Linked DNA regions of Homo sapiens: region 1 is linked to region 2. The links are contacts of gene promoters, found by promoter capture Hi-C in human tissues and cell types (Jung and others, 2019). All regions are on one chromosome and are shown on one strand. The core of a region is centred on a gene start or on the middle of the fragment in contact, and the rest is flanking DNA. Distances in the headings are between cores, read along the strand shown. Region 1 has its middle 24 kb from the start of CYP2A13. Region 2 holds the start of CYP2A7 (cytochrome P450 family 2 subfamily A member 7).

Region 1 (4,412 bases), core at 1,640-4,139, 180 kb after region 2:
AGCCCTATTAGAGGAGACAGACAGACTCACCTTCATGAAAGACTGAAACGTAGCGTCAGTTCGAACTTGCAGCAGGTTCCCCAGGAAAGGAATTGGTGTAGGACCTGGGGGCAGCTTTCCTGCCTTATTCATTCATTTCCAGGCAATGAGGATGAGCAGGCAAGACAAGCAGAGTGCCAGAAAGATGGTGACAGCCCCTCCCATCTCCATGGTGCCAGGTCAACAGGTTCTGTCCTGGGCACCAGATCCTGCCTAAATAGGTCCTGGGAGATCAGCTTATACCGAAATCTGAACACCCTGGGATTCAAGTTTTCCGGGTCTGAATGTCATTGGAGAAGAGATTGCTTTATATGGGAGGTGGTTATATAACCTATAATCTCCCACCTGAGTAAGGGTAGATTGAATTCACAAAGGGAAATCCTCTGGGGCCATTCCCCTTTCTTCAAATTTCCAGTCTCTCTGTTCTTCTCTCTCAGCTCAACAGAATTGAACAGAATTTTTTGGTGGGGTGTAAGAGGCAGATTATTACCTTTTTAGGCTATTGATTTTAGGATCCAGACAATCTGAGTACAAGCGGCAGCTCTGTCTTTTCTTCACTGGGCAAGTCACTTAACCTCTGGGACTTGTTTCTCCATCTATCAAATAGGGAAACCATGTTGTTTTATTTTATTTTATTTTATTTTACTTTTTTGAGACAGATTATCACTCTGTCACCCAGGCTGGAGCATAGTGGCGTGATCTCATTTCACTACAACTTCTGCCTCCCGGGTTCAAGCAATTCTCATGCCTCAGCCTCCCAAGTAGCTAGGACTACAGGTGCACACCACTATGCCCAGCTAATTTTTGTATTTTTCTAGAGATGCGGTTTCACCATGTTGGCCAGGCTAGTCTCGAACTCCTGGCCTCAAGTGATCCACCCCAATCAGCCTCCCAAAGTGCTGGAATTACAGGCGTGAGCCACCGCAGCTGGCAGACCATGTTGTTTTAGAAAGTCTTGATAGACAACAAGGAAAACTCTTTGTTCATTATTTAATTAAGGATAACCTTAATTAATCAGTTATTAGATTTTTTAAATTGACACATAATAATTGTACATATTTGTGGTATATATATGTACATAATAATTGTACATATGTGTGATGTTTTGATACATGTATGCAATGTATAACAATCAAATTCGGGTAATTATTATATCCATTACTGAGACATTGTCATTTCTTTGTGGTAAGAACATTCAAAATCCTCTCTTCTAACTATTTTGAAATATGCAATGTATTATTGTTAACTACAGCCAGCCACCCTACTGTATAATGGAACACTAGAATGTTAATAAGGAAAGTAAGCTGAAGATTTAGAAAACAAGAGAAATAAATCAATTGAAAGGGTTTTGTTCAAAGAGTTCTTGTTTTCTACTCAAGTTAATGTTAAATAACAATAATCAAAGATTACCCATGTTGGTGTATCAGAAATTTGCTGTATCAAATTTAAAAAAAGAAAAAAAAGAACTTTGCTGTAGTGTGTGTCAGTGTGTGTGTGTGTGTGTGTGTGTGTGTGTGTTTTGAAAGTCTAAGGTGTAGAGATCACCTCTGAACCCCAGTCTCTGGAGGGGAATGTCTTAATAATCTAAAAAGTGATTAACTACCTTTTCTGCACCAAATATTTTCAAAGCCTTATTGTCCTGAAATGAACTTCCTGGATATTATATCCTACCCTCATGTACTATTTAACAAAATTCAATGTCCTTTTCATGCGACTGTATTCTCAGACTTGGAAACCGAATCCCTCAAGGTATCTGTAGGTTTGGGGAATGGGGTTTGGCTGGCTGAGCTGAGGCATCCTGTGTCCAGAAGTGGTGGAAATTCTGGGAAAGCTGAGTGACTCACACACAGTGCCACCTTTTGTCTCTTGGATCTGCTGCTAGAATGTCTTTCTTGGAGTAGAGACTCAGCTCAGCCCATCTCCTTTGACTCCCTTAGCTTTCACCTTCCCATCCCATTCTGATCCTCACCCCCCAGCACTTAACACCCATTCAGGACTAACCTCTTAACCATCTTGTGGTGGTGGCATGTGTGTGGTGATGGTGGTTGGTTGTGAGTCTGGTTTTCCTATTCAGACAGGAAGGGAGAGAGCAAGTACTCTTAGAACAGCTCCCTTCACCATCCCACCTCCAGACAGGAAGCCAGGAATGGAGGAACTTGAACTAAAGTTCAGCTGGAGTTCAGTGGTGTGATCTTGGCTCACTGCAACCTCCGCCTTCCAGGTGCAAGCGATTCTCCTGCCTTAGCCTCCCAAGTAGCTGGGATTACAGGCACCCACCACCACGCCTGGCTAATTTTTGTATTTTTAGTAGAGATGGGGTTTTGCCAGGTAGGCCAGGCTGGTCTTGAACTCCTGACCTCAAGTGATCCACCTGCCTGGCCTCCCCAAGTGCTGGGATTACAGGCATGAGCCACTGCGCCCAACCAAATTTTTTTAATTTGTCACTTTGTGCCAGGCATGGATGGAGCTGTGTGCTTGACAAGCAGGGTATCCTCTAATCCAAACAACCAGCTTGCAAGGAAGGGCATGTTAAATAGTCAGAGATTATTCAGGTCACCCTAAAACAAATATTCTTATAACCTGAAGCTGCTGGATAAACTTTTTTTTTTAAACTCTGTGTAATACCTTTCATACAGAGGGGAAAGGCATTCAGATGTTTCAGGTGCTTGGAGGTATAGCTCTCATTGTCATCTGGTTTGATATATTAAATTCATATATGACTGTATTTGAGAAAAGGTTCATATTTCAGAGGCACCTAGATGTCTCCCAATATTTGTTTTCCCTGTCTTCCGTAGTAATAGAATTCTATCCAGCTACATGATTATCTAGAGTTAAAAACTACATTTCCCAAGCTCCCTTGCAGCTGCGTATGGCCGTGTAGCCAAGTTCTGACCAATGAGAAGTGAGTGAAAGTGATGCCTGCAACTTTCAGTTTATGCTTTTAGAGGGAGGGGCAAGGTTTCCTTCCAGAATATTTCCTCTTTCTGGCTAACTGGGATAGCAAGAGCAACAACTTAGGAAGGAGCAGCAGCAACATGGAAGGAGCCTGGGTCTTTGATATCAGTGAACTGCCTGATGAGCTCAGGGTTGCTTATGCAGAGCCATTAAGTGTAAGAAAATTAAATTTCCACAGGGCGCGGTGGCTCATACCTGTAATCCCAGCACTTTGGGAGGCCAAGGCAGGTGGATCACTGGAGGTCAGGAGTTCAAGACCAGGCTGGCCAACATGGTGAAACCCCATCTCTACTAAAAATGCAAAAATTAGCCGGGCGTGGTGGCACACACCTGTAATCCCAACTACTCGGGAAGCTGAGGCAGGGGAATCGCATGAACCCGGGAGGCCGAGGTTGCAGTGAGCCCAGAAGGTGCCACTGCATTCCAGCCTGGGTGACAGAACGAGACTCCATCTTCAAAAAATAAAGAAAGAAAGAAAATTAAATTTCCATCTTATGTAAGCCCCTTTAAACCACTGTTTTGGGTCTTTGTTATAGCAGTTAACCTATATCTTAGGAAATTTGGCTTCTGTGAAAAATGCTTGAAAAATCATTGAACCAAGATAAGTGCTTGTTGCCTTCTTTTTTATTGTTGTGTCTGAGTACCACCCATATATGAATTTAATGTTTCTTTAATTGACTCTCCTTTTTAAGAACTTAAATTCATTAAGATGGAACTTGGTATTTCTCCCTTTAATGGAAAATTAGCTATTTTCTATCATAACTAGAAAATACCTGTGTATTAGTTATCTAATACTACATAACAAAACAGCTCAACACTTAGAGGCTTAAGACAACAACGATTTGTTATTTCCCACAGTTTCTGTGTGTCAATGTAATTTAATGCCATACTCTCCCACATCCATGGGGAAGTCTTCCTGGTACTCATACCTGCCCCCAACTTCTTTTCTGCATCTCCTTTCACTCTTAAACTCAAGCTTAGGGTTCAAGTCTAAACACAGCATGTCAGAGCTTGAAGAGGTCTCAGAAATATTATTAGTTCAGTGTTTCTCAAAAGGTATAAAATGCATAATTTGACCCAATGTATACCCATGGAGTATAAATCATCAGTTGTGAGATACTGCAAGATTCCTTGTAAGGAGGATGTATGTATGGATTTGAGTATTACAGATGATGATAATAAACATATTTAACAACCAGGGCAGCACAAACATTGTCTGAAGATGGAGTAGGGTCCTAGAGGCCTCTGTAGTTGCTGAATTATGGGACTATTGGTAAGAGTGGTCCTGGAGAAGTGGTTGAATTTCCCATTTACCAACTGCTCTCGTTTGGATGTTTGTCCCTGCAAACCTCACATTGAAATTTGATCCCCAATGTTGGAGGTGGAAATTAATGGGAAGTGTTTGGTTCATGATCCAG
Region 2 (3,978 bases), core at 631-3,130:
CAGACTCCAGGGCTGGAAGTGCGGGCGCCTTTCCCCACCTAGTCCCCATCCGCAGGCAGAACGCGCGCGGGTTCCTCGTCCTGGGTGTTTTCCTTCTCCTGCCCCCGCACTCGGGGAACCTTACTCACCGTGCGTGCTCCGGATGGCCTCGATGAGGAAGCCCGACTCCTCCTGGATGCGCTCCTCGATGCCTCGCTTGCCCACCCCGAAGTCCCTCAGGGTGGCGATGGCAAAGCGCAGGAGCTGCTTGGCGCGCTCCCCGTTGCTGAACGCCACGCCTGGGGAGGTCAAGGCGGGGGTGGAGAGAGGTCAGGGGGCGGCGGTGGCAGGAGCGGACCAGTTCCAAGGGGCTCCCCAAGGGTGGAGCAGAGGGGTAGTGGGGTGGGAGAGAGATGGATTCAGTGCCAGTGCCCAGGACAGGTGCAAACTCAGTCAGAGAAACACGAGGGAGAGAGAGAGAGAGAGAGAGAGAGAGAGAGAGAGAGAGAGAGAGAGAGAGAGAGAGAGAGAGACCGGGTAGAAAGAATAAGAGAATCAGAAGAGAAACAGAAAGGCCAGATAGAGATGCGCAGAGAAACAGAGGGATAAGGGGATACTCCATGGAGGAAGGGTAGGAAGTGGGGAGAGAAAGAGAGAGATGGAGGAAGAGGATGGAGGGAGGGGAAGTGAGATATGGGGAGATCTGGGAGGAGGAAATAAAAATGGTGAAACATTCTTAAGCTGAGCTGGAGAAGAGAGAAAAATACTGAGACAGAAACAGAGAGGGTCTGGAAGGAAGAGAGACTGTTACCAGGAGATGGAGGCTGGAGATGTGGAAGTAAGAATAGCATGAAATCCTAAGGGAGAGGAAAAAGTGAGAGAGGGAAGTGGAGAGAGGAGAAACATGGAGAAGCACAGAAGCTGAGAGCAACAAAAAGACAAATGAAGACAGAGGACCAGGGCTGGAAAACAGAAACCCAGGATGTCCTCAGAGATGGAGAGAGAGGGGAAAGAGGAGACTCCAGTGAGAGAGAATAAGGAGGTGGGGCAGAGAGAGGCAGGGAGGAATCACGACAGGGACGCTGGAGACAGGTGAGGGATACACATGGAGAGGCCACAGTGAAGGGAGATGGGGAGATAAGACCAGACCGGGGGTTCTGCCATAGCCTCCAGTGGGCAGGAGAGTCAGGGAGAAGGCTGGCAACACTGAGACCATCGTGTCCGCCTGGCCACCTTCCCCATCTTGGGCACCCCCTCACCATAGCCTTTGAAGACCCAGTCGAAGGTGGCTTGCTCGCCTCGCCCGCTGAACTCCTCAGCCTGGTCCACCAGAGCCTCCCTGACGGCATCATGTCCACACAGCACCACGACCCGCCGGGGCCCCAAGTGAATGGTGAACACGGGGCCATAGCACTCACTGAACTGATGGAGGCGAGTGGGAGTGGTTAGAGGGAGCAGCCCCCACTCTGAATGGGGCCCAGCACCGAGATGTCAAGTACTGGGATCCTTCACCCCCAGGTTCTCACAGTCAGGGAGCTGGACATCCCAAGATCCTGTCTTTCCTGGCTAGGACCCGGATGCTGAAACTCCAAAACTCCCTTTCCTAAGACTCTGGTCCACACTGGTCAATCCCCTGCCACAAAGCCCCAGCCAACTAGGCAGCCCCCACCCTGTGCCACCCATCTTCCTGCCTTGGGACACCTTCATGATGGAGTCACATATGTGCTCTGTGTTCAGCTGGAGGTAGTTTCCAATGAAGGGCAGTGGGGTGGGTCCCGGAGGCAGCTTCCCCCTGCTCTTCCTCTGCTGCCAGACAGACATCAAGACCATCACAGTCAGGCAGGCCAGCAAGGCCACCAGAAGCAGCCCTGAGGCCAGCATGGTGGTAGTGAGATGACAGATGGTGATGGGTGGGGTGGTTTGCCTTTATACTGCCTGAAAAAGAGGGATGGACTTTGGCTAATTACATAATCACCTTATTTCACCTCCCAACTACACGCCCCACCATGAATGCCACCTAGCTTGGGACACAGCCAGCAAGGGAGGATAAGGGGACCCCAGGGCAGCTGAACAGAGAGGGGGCCTCCAGACTAAATCTGTGGTACTTCAGGAGGGGTGCCGCAGGGCTGTGGATTTAGGAGGGGGCAACCGATAAACTGTAGAACTGAAGAGTTTGGAATATTTGCATAGGGGAGCACTTGGGCTTTGGATTTGGGGTCTGAGAGTGAGAATGCACCCCAAAGTTGTGGATTTGGGCATTCCAAGGGAGAGGAATCCAAAGGTCTGGGTTTTATTAGGGTGAGATGGAAGTGTGGCTGTGCATCTGGAGGTCTTCTGTTGCGGAGGATGCAGGGTTAAGGGTCTCAGGAGGGGGGACTCCAGGCATATGGACTTGAAAGTCTCGGGGCTAGGAAGACCCAGGGCTGTGGGTGTGGAGTTTCTGGGAGGAGGAGTGTGTAGCAAGCCAGCAGGTGCTCCCAGAAAGCCCAGCAGCCCAGCAATGGGCCCAGGGGCTGACTTGATTTTGCTTTTGCCCAGAGCTATCTCTTGATGCCCAGAATCCTCATTGGAACCTCAGAGTGAGGCCAGGATGGGTGCCATGGAACCTCCACTGCCCATCTCTGGTTGGGAAAGGGGTGGAAGACCAGGGCCATATTTCAGGGGAACTTTCCCCACACCTGGAGAAGAGTACCTGGAGTTAGCGGTTGGCAGAGGGATTGGCTAGGTCTGGAGAAATAGTAATAACAACCCCCAAATGGTGGAAAAATCTCAAGTGTCCCAAGGGTTGTCCGCTGGTTTCCAACCCAGATCCTCAGGGAAACCCACTAGATTGATTGTATCATCCCTATTAATATTATGATTGTTGTTTATGTTTCTCATTTTATATAAAGATCTACAGAGGACAGAAAACAGACAGTGGGCAGGGGACATGTGTGAGTGGCCCTGAACTCCCATCTCTCCTGCTCTGTGTACTTAGTTCCCCTTTCTGGATTTGGTTTTCCTGCCAGTGGAAAGGGAGTGTTTGGGAAGAGAAGATCACATTTGAGGGTGAGTTAAGTCTCCTTTAAGGGCGATTCCTGCTTTGTCAGGGGCTACTACTATTAGCAGGCAGAGGGAACAGTCGCAGAAGAGATTGGGGTAAACTCCAGTGTTAGGCACAGAGGCAGATCCTGGGGTGGGTGTGAGTGGAGAAGGGATGAGTAGCCCTCCTGTCCTTCCTTCAGGGAAATTCTTCCTTAGTAAACAGGACAGTTACCCTTTGGTGAGCATGGTCATATATGGGAAGATTAAGTCTAGGTGTGTATGATCTGGTTGAATCTTTGTAACAGTGAGGTTGGTTCATCGTGATCATCCTCATTTTGAAGATGAGCAGATCTAGACTCCATAAACCCTCTTGAGTGAGGTCACACAGGGAGTAAGTGAGGGAGCTGGGATGTGAACTTTCTCCTCGCCCCCCTTCATTGACTGGCCTAGATCACCCTGGGAGTCAAGTGCGGGCCAGCCTTAGCAGGAGGTGAGTGCTGAGACTGGCATCAGCAGTGGACACACTGATGACATTGGCGGGTTCTGATATCAGCATCAGGTATGGCCAGGGAGGGAAAGGCATCGTGTTGGCTTTGGGACTGCCCCCAGGTGTATGCGAGGATGGGAAACAAGTTGGCACTGAACTTGACACCAGGAGAATATTGAAGTCATGTTTGGTGCCAAGAGGGCTCTGTGTGTTGTCTCAGGTGTCATTGAGGGCATAAGAGTGTCCTGCTTCAGGAGGGCATAAGGGTGGCACCATATAGGGTCTGAGGTTGGTCCCAGTGGGCTCTGACATGAGCATGAGGCAGGTGCTGATATTGGTCCTATGTGGGTCTGAGATGAGCCTCAGCCAGACCCTGAGAGGGGCCCCAGATGGCCACAGGACAGGCTCTGGTGGTTGGACCATTTAGGGTTGCACCTGTCCTCTGGGTCACCAACTTTGGACAAGTGGAGGTGGGTGAGGTTGGCACC

Evidence for each region. The method cuts DNA at HindIII sites, captures the fragments that hold promoters and counts their contacts. A contact is called where the count stands out against the background at its distance.
Region 1: a fragment that was not itself captured here is called in contact with the fragment with the promoter of CYP2A7 in region 2 in 1 of the 25 tissues and cell types used here (H1 embryonic stem cells).

What each region holds. Positions count from the first base shown.
Region 1 is chr19:41,062,235-41,066,646 of GRCh38, forward strand. It overlaps the pseudogene CYP2G2P. Among named protein-coding and RNA genes, the nearest start is that of CYP2A13, 24 kb to the right of the region's middle. The HindIII fragment of the contact is 5,575 bases long and covers 103-4,412 here.
Region 2 is chr19:40,880,351-40,884,328 of GRCh38, forward strand. CYP2A7 (cytochrome P450 family 2 subfamily A member 7) reads right to left here and starts at 1,881. Exons shown (of 9, transcript NM_000764.3): 1 at 1,681-1,881; 2 at 1,239-1,401; 3 at 129-278. The coding sequence starts at 1,860. The HindIII fragment of the contact is 10,061 bases long and covers 1-3,978 here.